Regions from separate parts of the Homo sapiens genome. Here region 1 is linked to region 2. Evidence: promoter capture Hi-C in human tissues and cell types (Jung and others, 2019). All regions are on one chromosome and are shown on one strand. Each heading gives the region's core, a stretch centred on a gene start or on the middle of the fragment in contact. The rest is flanking DNA. Distances are from core to core; before and after follow the strand shown. Region 1 holds the start of PRLH (prolactin releasing hormone). Region 2 holds the start of LRRFIP1 (LRR binding FLII interacting protein 1).

Region 1 (6,139 bases), core at 1,720-4,219, 61 kb after region 2:
TGAAAATATGCTTCTAGTACATTCACTCTGTTCTTCAGCCACTGCCGTGGTCCAGTTCTAAGACGTTTCACCACCTCCAAAAGGGAACCCCCATATCCATTAAGCAGTCATCCCCCCACCCCTCTTCCCTATCCCCTGACAGCCATGAATCTGCTTCCATAGAATATGCAATGTCATACAACGTTTTTATATAAACAGAATCATACAACATTTGAATTCTTGTGCCTGGCTTCTTTCACTTAGCATGATGCTTCCAAGGTTCATCCGTGTTGTGGCATGTATCAGTGGTCCATTCCTTTTCCTGGCTGAGTAATATTCCATTGCATGGATAGACCACGCTGTGTTTTTCTATTCTTCTGTTGATGGGTGTTATGAAATGTTTGTGTCCCCGCCACTGCAAATTTATATGTTGAAATCCTCCCCCCATTATGGTGGTATTAGGAGATCGGGTCTTTGGGAGGAGATTAGGTCATGAAGGTGGAACCCTCATGGATGAAATTAGTGCCCTCATAAGAAGAGGCTAGAGAGCTTGCTTCCTGTTTCTGCTCTCTGCCATGTGAGGATACAACGAGAAGACGGTGTCTGTCAACCAGGAAGATGGTGTCGGATCAAGGTGTCGGATCAGCCAGCACCTTGATCTTGGACTTCCTGCCCCCAGAACTGTGAGGAGTGAGTGTTTACTGGCTGAGCCTCTGTGCCTATGCTATCTTATTAGAGCAGCCCGAACTGACTAAGGCAATGGGCATTCAGGTCATGTCCACCCTTTGGCTACTTGGAAGGGTGCTGCTGTAAACGCTGCTGTGATGTGCTGAGCACCTGCCCTCAGTTCTCCAGGGTCTACACCTGGGGCGAATTGTTGGGTCGTTTGATAACTCCGTGTTTAACTTTTTGAGGGCTGTGGCCTCTTTAAGGCCTGACCCAGCCCCTGCTGCCTTCGGAACAGACCTTGCCCCCCTTCCTGTTCCTGCAGGCTCACTCTACCCTGGCGAGGTGGCTCAGGGCTGGAGGGGCTCCCCTGTAGCTGGGGAGGTGCAGTCACCCCAACTCAGCCCCGTGTAGGTGGTCTGGGCCTTGCCACTGGCCCCTCTGAGCATGGATGGCCAAGAGGGCTGTGGTCAGGATGGGCTCCTGAGATCAGCATCTGCAGGCAGGGTCCAGCAAGAGTCCAGGCCAAGCTTTGGGTTGGAGGGAGCTGGTGAAGCCTGTTACATGGCTGGGTGGAGGATGGGCCTTGGGGAAGGGGCTTGCACTCACAGAGCACCCACCCTGTGCCGGCAGGCGTGCAGGTGCCACGCCCACGGAGCTGAGGAATGAGGTAAGCGTTGCTGTTCTGTGGCATGCAGTTGTGGAAACTGAGGCTCAGTGATTCACGGGATGAACTCAGTCTCCCAGGTGGTGCAAGTGTGCCCCCAATGCCAACCTAAGCTACACCTGAGGCAGGATGTGGAGACATCCCCGTGTGATTTGAAAGGGACGCACGTGGCGTGGGAGCAATCTAGGTTCAAGTCTCCCTGCCATGGGTCAGAAACAATCCATGATGCATCTTCCCTGAGTAAGAGGGAGGCAAGACAGACTGCAATGAGAGGACTAGCAGTTGTAGGGGTTGCGGGGTGCAGGGATGAGTAGGGGGAGCCCAGAGGACTTCTAGGACAGTTAAACGACTCTGCGTGATGCCACATCGTGTTGTTGTACATTTGTGCAAACCCACAGGACGCACAGCGTGGAGAGTGGGCTCTGACATACGCTGGTTGGGGATGGGGATGTGTCAGTGTGGGTTCCTCGACTGGGACAAAAGCACCCTCGGTGGGGGTGTTGATCATGGGGGAGGCTGTGCGGATGTGGGGGAAGGGGGTGGATGGGAACTTTCTGTACCTTCTACTCAATTTTGCTGTGAACCTAAAGCTGCTCTGAAAAATAGTCTAAATAAAAAGGACTGAAGTTGAGGGGCTGCCCAGGGCTCAGGCTGGGGGCTGTGCTACCGTCCTATGGGGACAGTGTCCTGCAGAGTATGACGCGTGGCACCTCCTGGCCTTCTGCAGTGGACAGCCTGGGCAGCCACTCAGGGCAGCTTGGGTGTGGGGGTGGCTGTGGGCTGCCGGTGACCAAGGGTAGACCCAGCGCCCCAACTCAGTGCCAAGTGCCCTCTGCCAAGTCACAAAGCCTTTTCTTCCAAAGAAGTTGCTGGGCTCTGAGGTTCTTTCTAGTCTAATGTCCCAGGAGGGAACAACTTCAGAGTCACCACCACACAGTCGTGAATGTGTAACTGAAGACCAGAGCTTTTATTAGGATTGAAGGGAAAGGAGCCCGAAGGAGAGGAGAGGGTGGGGTGGGGGAGGCTCCAGAGTGAGTTTCTTGACAAGCTGGCTGTCAGCCATCCTGGGACGACATAGCACCGCCTTCCAGGGGGAAGCAGGTCAGCCGGGGTCGCAGGCCAGGCTTGGGGACGTCCCCCAGGGTTGCCCTCCTCCGACCGAAGCGGCCCACAGGCCTGATCCCGCGACTGGCGTACCAGGCAGGATTGATGTCAGGGGCTGGAAAGGAAAGAGCTGGAGCAGACCATGGGCACGTGTCCCCAGGGTGTGCTGTGCTCCCAGAGGCAGCGGGGCAGAGTGCACAGGCAGGGCCTCTCAGCCCAGTCGCCAGGCCATGCTGGGAGCCACCCGAGGAACAGGCACCCAGAGGTTCTGGCGAGGCCATTTCTGGGCGTGGGCTGGCTTTGGGAAGCAGGAGTTCAAAAAAGCACCAAGACTGACTTCCCTTTCCTCCCGCGCACCCCGTTCCTGCCAGGTTCTCGAGCGACCAGGCTGCACTAGGTTCTGGGGTGAGGCAGGGTGGGGTAAGGGAGGCTGACAGGGGTCCAGGCACTCACTGCGGATCTCCATGGAGTGCCGATGGGTACGACTTGCAGCTCCCCGCAGGGCCAGGCCCAGCATCAGCAGGCACAGGAGCCAGGCCCTCAGCACCTTCATCCCTTGGCTCCTCCGAGGAGGCCCCGCTGGAGGGGAGATCCAAATGAGGAGGACACGGCCTGGGGGAGAAGGGGCAGGAGCAGCGTCACACAGGCATCAGGGTGCGTGTGCACGGAGCTGGGACCTTGGGTAGAGTGAGCACTGTGTGTGAGAGAGAAGTATGTGCATGAGCCTGTGTGCATGTGAGTGCACAGCTGTGTATGTATATGTGTACAAGAGGGTGTGGTGTGTGCACATGGGTGCCTGTGTGTGTGTATGTGTGCAGATATGTGTGTGTATGTGTGTAGATGTGTGTATGTGTGCAGGTGTGTGTGTATGTGTGTAGATGTGTGTGTATGTGTGCAGATGTGTGTGAGTGTATGTGTGTAGATGTGTGTATGTGTGCAGATGTGTGTATGTGTGTAGATGTGTGTGTATGTGTGTAGATGTGTCTGTGTGTATTGTGTAGATGCGTGTGTATGTGTGCAGATGTGTCTGTGTGTAGATGTGTGTATGTGTGTAGGTTTGTGTGTATGTGTGTAGATGTGTGTGTATGTGTGCAGATGTGTGTGAGTGTGTGATGTGTGTATGTGTGCAGATGTGTGTGTGTGTAGATGTGTGTGTATGTGTGTAGTGTGTCTGTGTGTATTGGGTAGATGCGTGTGTATGTGTGCAGATGTGTCTGTGTGTAGATGTGTGTATGTGTGTAGGTTTGTGTGTATGTGTGTAGATGTGTGTGTGTAGATGTGTGTATGTGTAGGTGTGTGTAGTTGTGTGTGAGTGTATGTATGTGTGTGGATGTGTGTGTAGTTGTGTGAGTATGTGTGTAGATGTGTGTGTATGTGTAGATGTGTGTGTAGCTGTGTGTGTGTGTATGTGTGTAGATGTGTGTATGTGTGTAGATATGTGTGTAGATGTGTGTGTGTCGATGTGTGTGTGAGTGTGTGTAGATGTGTATGTGTGTAGGTGTGTGAGTGTACATGTGTAGATGTGTGTGTGAGTGTATGTGTGTATGAGTGTAGGTGTGTGAGTGTATGTGTGTAGATGTGTGTATGTATGTGTGTAGATGTGTATGTGTGTAGATGTGTGTGTAGATGTGTGTGTGTACGTGTGTAGATGTGTGTGAGTGTGTGTAGATGTGTATGAGTGTAGATGTGTGTGTATGTGTGTAGATGTGTGTGTAGTTGTGTGTGAGTGTATGTATGTGTGTAGATGTGTGTGAGTGTGTAGATGTGTATGTATGTGTGTAGATGTGCGCGTGCACATAGCCACATAGATCTCCACGTGTTCCTCTGATCTGTGCTGAGGTGGGAATAAGCACAGAAACAGCAGTTAAACCTGGCTCTCTGCATGGTCCCCCACCCGCCTGTGACCCCATTCTCTCCTCTGCGCAATGAGGTGTTAAGTGAGATGCTTCTGTGCGCGTCAGCCTCTAACGGGATCGGTCACATGTACATTGATGCTCATGATCAGAAAGCCCTCAGGAGGTGTGAGCTACGCGTTATAAAGGGGGGCTGTCATGGAACAGCCTTGGGTCCGTCTGTCCGCCTGTGTTAAGGGATCAGAAGGTGCAGCAGGCCTCTGCACGGCTGTGCATGTTGCACACCCAGGACAGCAGGTTTGTGGGGAGGTGCCCAGGGAGCTGCACAGGTGGAGGCAGCCCCTTGCTCAACCTCAGACATGGTTGGGGAGCTGGGGAGTGCCAAGCCTGGACCAGGCTCAGGGGCTGGAATCCGGTGCACGGCCCCTTCCCACATTCATCTCAGCGCCTCCTAATGCCTGGTTCCAGCCTGCCAGCCCAGCCCTGCTGGGGAATGTCAGCCGACAGCTGCGTGTCGTAGAATGAGTCTGCATCCTCTGCCCTAAGTAAGCCCACTCACCCTTGCCATGACGCTAGATCCAGTCTTCTGAGGCTCCAAGGTAAGCCTGTAGCATCTGGGACCTCTTCTCACAAGGCAGGGCCACTTCCTATCGGTGATGGGAGGAGGGGGCTGCCGTGGATGACACCAGGTGCATGGAAAGCCCCTTCCACCCCACTGGAGTGGAGGTGCTGAAATGCCTAAACAGCATCCATCATGGGAGACCTGGAAACACCTGCTGCAGGCACCCCTCCTCCTTCCTCCACCTGTGGCACTTTGGGTGCCATGGGAAGATGCCCGACAGCTCCATCTTGCTCTGGGAAGGATCCCCCTGCCGACCTTGACTTTCCAGCCCCTCCCTGAGCCCCACAGAAAGTGCTCTCCATCAGAACAATTTAAAATGCCTACACCTTTCCTTTTTAGAGACCTGGAGGGGCGTCCCATGCTAGGTGGGGTGGGGGGTTCCCCAGTCTAGAGGAAATGGAGGTGCCACCTTGAAGAGTGATAAAGAGATTCATCCCAGCAGGCTGGCCGTTTGCATTTCCTCTGGCACGGGACCCACGCCACCTGAGGGGTGTCCGAGAATGCTAACGATGCTCACTTGGCTCCTGATCCCCAAAGACCTGCCTCCCTGAGAGGTGGAGACTTTGGCCGGCTGCCCCGTGGGATTTCCTGGTCAGCGGAGTTGAATGGGACGTCTTTGTCTGGAGTCTCCACCATGGACAGCGCCGGAGCCTTGGTGCCCTGGGAGGGCAGGGTGGCTTTGGATGCAAGAACCCAGGGGCCAGCCGTCTCTGCCTCTCCTGCTTAGGCCTAGCCTCAGCTGCCAGGAGAGCAGGCAGGGTCTCAACCCGACCCACACTCAGACAGCAAGGGAAGATTTTACAAAGTAGCAAAGCAGAGGGCCCAAGCTCCAGCGCCTGGATGTGCAACTCACCGTTCTCGAGTGTGGTAGAGGAGCTGTCCTGGCTACGGGTGCAGTGGAGCCGAGGAGGCGGGAGCCTCTGTTCCCCTTTTATAGCCCCCGAGAGGACGAAGCCGGCACCCCCAGGTGCCCTCCCCCAAGCCAGCCTGTCTCCCTCACAGGGCGGCATCAGGAGCGAGCCTGTGTCTCTTCTCGTTCCTTTATTGAAAAAAAAAAACACAAAACAAAACTCATCAGCGATGCGATTTGTTCCTTCCTGGGTTATATAATTTCATTTGGACCAAGTGGTTTTAAAACACATTAGCTTCTCTTCTTCGTGCTCGCCTTCGGGCAGACTGCAGTGTCAAGTGTCCGCTGGGCCTCACAGATGGGGCTCCCGGACTCCTTCCAGTCCTCTCTCCCTGCCT
Region 2 (6,082 bases), core at 3,483-5,982:
TTGAAACAAGCCTGGGGGACATTTTGTGACCTCACAAAATGGTTACTTGATGGCTGCAGGCTGCCTTGGGGGCAATGCAACCCCTTCTCCACAACTGGAGTCCTTGGGGGCTGTGTGACCCCTTCTCCACAACTGGACTCCTTGGGGGCAGTGTGACCCCTTCTCCACAACTGGACTCCTTGGGGGCAGTGCGACCCCTTCTCCGCAACTGGACTCCTGTGTGGCCGTGGCTCAAGTGAAAGGCGGTGGCTGTGAGGCCTGAACCAACAGCACCCGCAGGCCCACGAGTCAACTTGGGGCCGGTGAAGCAGCCGGGTGGGGCAGCAGTGCCCCTGCCATGGATCAGGGCCCGAGGCCGCAGGCCACAGAGGGGCCAGCTTGGAGAGGAGGCTGCAGAAACAGTTATGGGGGGAGGGCCTCCGTCCTGCTGGGTGAGGAAGGGGTACCTATGGCACCACCAGGGGATAATAAGCTCACCGCACTGTCTCAAGGCCCCACGGTGAGTTCCTAATGCAGCCTGCGCAAATGACTGTTCCTGTTGGGAAAAACATTCTTCATTTGAGAGCAATACTTTGAATTGCATGGTGAGACCAGTATCGCTTTACTCAGCTGCAGAGTGCTGAATGAGAAGTTTGGGATGCTACCAAAATGCACCAGTAGAATGTGAAATGCGGTAGGAGAGGAAAATCTATCTGCGTTGGAAACACCCCTCCCCAGAAGTGGGAGGCGCAGCTCATGCCTTTGGTGCTAATGAGCTTCTGCAAGTGCGTACTAAACCTTTCTCCTGATAACATCCCGCCTGAATTCCACTGCAACAAGAGAGTGAGAAATAATTGACTTGCGATAATACAGCATTTGCAAATAACTCCCTTTACTATACACGCTTGCCTAGAGTTTAAACCATCACATGGAAGCAGGACACCGGCTGCAGAAGCAGAAATGCACCCTCCAAAGGCTGCCCCCACCACGAGTCCTGCTTCTACCCAGAAGAGTGCAAAGCCCTGCCTGCACAGGGCAGCCTAGCTCTTCCCCTCGCTCCAGCGAACTGGAACCCACGTCCCTGCCAGGTGACTCAGGCTTCCCAATGACCTCAGCCCAGAATTTTCCACTTACTCTCCAGAAGGCATGTTCTTGGGTGCCAGGCCCAAGTGGCAGCCCACTCCCTCCCACTTCCTTGAAGCCTCCCCAGTTTCCATTCAGGCCCCCACCTTCCCAAGTGTTTCAGGGAGGCCGGCTCTCCCCAGTCCCAGGATGAGTCTGACAGGTCACAGGGTAGACCCACCCCCCTTTGCCACAGGCACTGAGCCCCTAAGTCCATGGTCCTTGTCAAAGAGCTTGGTGCAGGAGTGGCCAGACAGACTCATGAAAGTTTACCAGGGAGATACTGCTAGCTCTCTGGAGAGAGCCACCAGAAGAGACGGTGTGTGGGCTCCACAGTGGCAGCCCGGGAAAGCCAAGGCCAGCTGGCCTCCATGAAGCAAGTCAGCCTGAGGATGAGGCCACCCACAGAGGATGGCCCAGCCCAACCAGCTGCGCAGGTGCTGTGGGAAAAAGAGGCCGGAGCCACTGGTGAGGCTGGCGGGGAATCCTGCCCTGCCTCCGGGCTTGCTGTGCTCCAGCCAATATACTTCCCCTTGTCAATGTCAGTCCAGTCAGGGTTTCTGTCCCAGCAGCCAAAGCATCTTGACTGGTACATACAGCCTTCAAGAACTCAAAATGCCACTTCCTCCAGGAAGCCACTTCTGAGACCACTGGCCGGCTGTGATTCTCTCTCATGTCCAAACCTTCAGAACACTGTCTACGCCCTTTTTATATCAGATCCCTTCCTGTCTTCGGTTAGCATTATTGATCTACAGGTGTCAACCCCTTTCTGACCCAACTCCTGGAGGGCAGGCAGGTCCTCGCCGGGTTCCTCCCTGACTCTCCAGTCTCCCCAGGACAGGAATTTGGATACCATGGCTTGTATCTGTTGAGTCAATGAGTGAATAAGAAAGTACTGAACCCAAGACGATTTTGTTGATTTCTATAAGAACCCTGATGAATTCAAGGAGTAGATATTTGCCATTTGAATAGTGATTTTCATTTTCACAGTTGAGAAATAGAAGTTAATTTGTACTAAAACATAAGATGTCACACCTGCTCCCTCCAACCCTATCAATCTGTGCTACTCAGCACTAGTAACAGCTGCACCTACGGCTGGGTTTTACCGGGAGGGGCGTGTAAGAAGCTCTCATATTTACCCACCGCCTAGTTACATACTTTACATTGCTACCCACTTTCTTTAATTCTGACAGCCAGGGGAGGTTTCTTCTTCTCCATTTTAGAGACGAGAAAACAGAGGCCCAGAGAAGAGTGAGTAACTCACCTTCCTAGGATGGCACAGCTGGCTAAGAACTATGTCATTTGAAAGCCCAGCTCTGACTCACAAGTCTATCTCTGTAACTCCAACTGCATCTCCCTCGGTGGGAGGGAGGACCTCAGGGCTCTCAACCCAAGGAGTGTTCCCTTGCCTTCCTTTTCAATCTATTTTATAAAAACCAGCAGATAGGCTGGGCGCAGTGGCTTACGCCTGTAATCCCAGCACTTTGAGAGGCCAAGGCGGGAAGATCACTTGAGGCCAGGAGTTTGAGACCAGCCTGGCCAACACGGTGAAACCCCGTCTCTATTAAAAATACAAAAATTAGCCGGGTGTGGTGGTGCGTGCCTGTAATCCCAGCTACTGGTGAGGCTGAGGCAGGAGGATCTCTTGAGCCTGGGAGGTGGAGGTTGCAGTGAGCCGAGATCATACCACTGTACTCCAGCCTGGGCAACAGAGTGAGACTGTGTTAAAAAAAAAAAAAAAAAAAAAAAAGAAGAAAGAAACACCAGTGGATAAAAGGCAAACTCTGGAAATTTTCATTCTTCTCATTCTTCTGCCCCATAACCACTGACATCAAGACAAGGCTTGCGATTCACTGGCCACCTCTGGCCCTTGCAGGGAACACTTGTAAGGCACTGTGGTCAAATGCATACATAAGTGACTGTCTTCACAGGAGGGAGTTATACTCAAGCTACTATATTTAGCAAATGTCTATATTTAGCCAAAGGTCCTTTAAATGCCTTGTACTTCTTTTGTTTATTAATTAATGTAACAGACATAGACAAACACCTAGTATGTGCCTGGCTCTGTGCTGAGCTCTTGGGATACAAAAGTAAGATATTTCCTGTCTGGGTGTCACCTTCTACAGGTGGACAAATAATGATAAGGTATCCTGACTGCCATGCCAGGCGCGGGCATGCCATGGAGGGCCGTGGAGCCAGGGAGACTTAGGCCTGGTGCGATGTGAGAGGGCTGAGTCTGGAAGGTCTCCTGGAGGTCACAGTGGGCTTCCAGGAATGAATAAGGGTTTGCCTGGAAAGCCCTTTTCTGTATCATACAGAGAAAAACAGAAGTCTTTATTCACTCAGTAGTCAACAAATACTGAGTGACTGCCACATGTCCGTAAGAGCAAAATCAGGTATTTACAACTACAAACACCTAAGGATTGGTTACAGAGTAGATCCCCCAGAATATCTGACGGATACAGCCAGACACCACAGTCCAAATGGCTTGGAGGTGTTTCCTGTGGGAAGAATCACATGTGGAAAAGCCAACACGGAAAAGAACCTGTAAGGCGGGTTACAAGGCAGAGACTTTCTTTGCATTCATACACCCACCTGGCACACAGTTCAAATGGTACAAAGGGAACACAGTCAAAAATTAAGCTTCCTTTGTCCCCCTGGGGCCGCAACCTATTGGCTCCCCTTTTCCCAAGCTGCTGCTCTCTGTCCCTGTACGGCTTTCTGGATGTCATGTACATTCTTTAGCCTTAAGGTAGAATCCTTGCGGAAGGAAAAAAAAAAAGGCATTTGTACAAATACCCATTCTAGTGCGCCTTCAATTTGTCACAGGTAAAGTTCATCACCAAACATGATCTTAGTTACAATAAACTCTGTCCAGGAAACTTTAATGAAGACGTTTCAGTGTGCCTGGACCCGTTTCCAGGCTCAGTCCTGAAAGAAAAATCACAGTGATCCCCAAGTTCATCTCTGAGCTGCACCTTGAGTGACATCGATGGATGGATGACAAATGGTCACCTGAGCGACTCGGCCATTTCAGCAGGGCCATGTGGCCTCCGGCGACCGTCCACTGCCTCCAGGTCGGGCCTAAGCCCCCGCCTCCTCCCATGCCGCACAACAAAGCGGGGCGCTCGCCCCCACCCGGCCAGCCCGGGCCACCTCGCGCGCTGGCGGCGCCCGGCTCCTCTCCCGAGGGCGCAGCGGCCGACGGTGGCCGGGGTGGGGGAGGGCGCGCAGCGTCGCGGGCTGGGCCCGGGGCTGGAGAACGGGTGCGGGGTCCGCAGGCCTCGGAGATCGGGGCCGGGGCGCAGCGCCTGGGGATCAGCGCCCCGGCGCGCGCCTGCCCGGCCCACCCGCCTGGAGCCGGACGCGCAGTGGCACAGACGCACAGCGGGACAGACGGACGCCGGAGAGACCCTGACAGCCGTCCGGCCCCCGCGCCCGCCCGGCGCCCCCCGGCTGCCCTCCCGGAGCGCTCACCTCCCGCGCGATCTGGTTGAGCGCGTCGTCCTCCGCCGTGAGCCGCTCCCGGTTGGGGAGCCGCTTGCGCCCCGATCCCTGGGTGCCCATGTCCATCGACCGCGTCGCCCGCAGCTGCCGCGGGGCCCGTTGCTCCAGCCGCTCGCGCCGCCCCGGCCCGGCCCCGGCCCCGGCCCCTCCCTCCGCCGCGGCGTCATGGCGTCAGCGGGCGCTGGGCCGGGGACGCGGGGACGCGGGGGGACGGGGGCCGCGGGGACCCGGGGGAAGCCAGAGCCGGAGGTCCGCAGCGCGGGCCAGGGACTGCAGGGGCCAGGGACGGCGGGGCGGGGGACGGGGGCGGGGGGCGGAGACGCCAGGTGTCAGGGACGATGGGGGTCCGATACCACGGGGACGCTGCGGATGCCCAGGGCCGGGCACGCGGGACCTGAGGGACCGGGAGCCCCGGAGGGTGGACTTTGCGGGGACTGTTTGGCGGGCCGGTAATCGCGGAGCGACGCGCGCCAGGGCGGTGGGCACCGGTTGAGTGGGGACCTGAGCGGAGAGCGGGGGGGTAGGAAGGCTTTCAGAGGCCTGAGTTGCCTTGAGGGGTTTGCACGGAGGGGTGAGCACAGGATTTGGTTCAGCCTGGCGCTCCCCATTCCGCGGTGAGTCGGGGTGGAAGTCCCTCGCCGGGGTGAGAGCTAGGCTCTGGGGTCAGGCCGAGAGGTGCTCGGATCCGCCCGCCACCGCCGCTCCTGTGACCTTGGCCAGCCTCCTGGGCGCCGGCTTCACAGCGGCATGGTGTGGATGTGTGCGTTTCTGTCTTTACACGCGTGTTCTCCGTGCTAGCATCCATCCTTCTCCCCGCTGTCTGCCCCCTGAGATCAAGGACTTGTCACTTCTCTGGTGGGTCCCCAGCCTCTAGGATCGGGGCAGGTGCGTCGCAGCTCTCTCCTAGTTGTTGAAAAAGTAATGAACTTACCTGTGCTCTCTGAAGCTCACAGTCTATGCTCCAGAGGTGGATTTAAAAGTAAAGCAAATCGGAGGATTAGGTAGGGGTTAAAAGCCCCTGCCTAGGGCACGGCAGGAGCACCGGGTGGGAAAGTTACTGGTGTGTTTGGGGTATGGGGAGAACTTCAGTGTGGCTGGACCTGGGGAAGGATGGGAGGGAGGGTAGTGATGGTAGAGGAGAGGAGGCTGTACTGAAGTCACCTGTGATTTTTTTCCCCCAGTGATAAGGACAGTTAACATTTCGGTGTATTTCCCACCAAGTGGTGTGACCAGATTGCTTTGGATTCTTAAGGAGGTGGCCTGGAAGCTGTATGAAGGTGGGAAGAGGAAGAGGGCCCTTCCACCCACAGTGGCAGGGAAAGCTGTTGGAGGTTTCATTGCAGGGAAAAGACAGCGAGTCCAGTGACATGGGAGGGAGGGCAGATCCAGGTGACATTGCTCTGGGTGCCTGAGCTGACGCAGGTGGGTTGGCAGGGCTGACTGTGGCATTGTTCATGACTGAACTCCGGGAGCA

Evidence for each region. Contacts are between HindIII fragments. The study calls those that stand out against the background at their distance.
Region 1: the fragment with the promoter of PRLH here is called in contact with the fragment with the promoter of LRRFIP1 in region 2 in 2 of the 25 tissues and cell types used here (IMR-90 fibroblasts and ovary).

What each region holds. Positions count from the first base shown.
Region 1 is chr2:237,563,404-237,569,542 of GRCh38, reverse strand. PRLH (prolactin releasing hormone) reads right to left here and starts at 2,969. Exons shown (of 2, transcript NM_015893.1): 1 at 2,870-2,969; 2 at 2,368-2,531. The coding sequence starts at 2,969. The coding sequence ends at 2,368. RefSeq lists an enhancer at 5,620-6,120. The HindIII fragment of the contact is 10,563 bases long and covers 1-6,139 here.
Region 2 is chr2:237,626,237-237,632,318 of GRCh38, reverse strand. It overlaps LRRFIP1 (LRR binding FLII interacting protein 1), which reads right to left and starts at 4,732. Exons shown (of 24, transcript NM_001137550.2): 1 at 4,579-4,732. The coding sequence starts at 4,674. RefSeq lists enhancers at 262-823, 826-1,325. The HindIII fragment of the contact is 12,440 bases long and covers 1,203-6,082 here.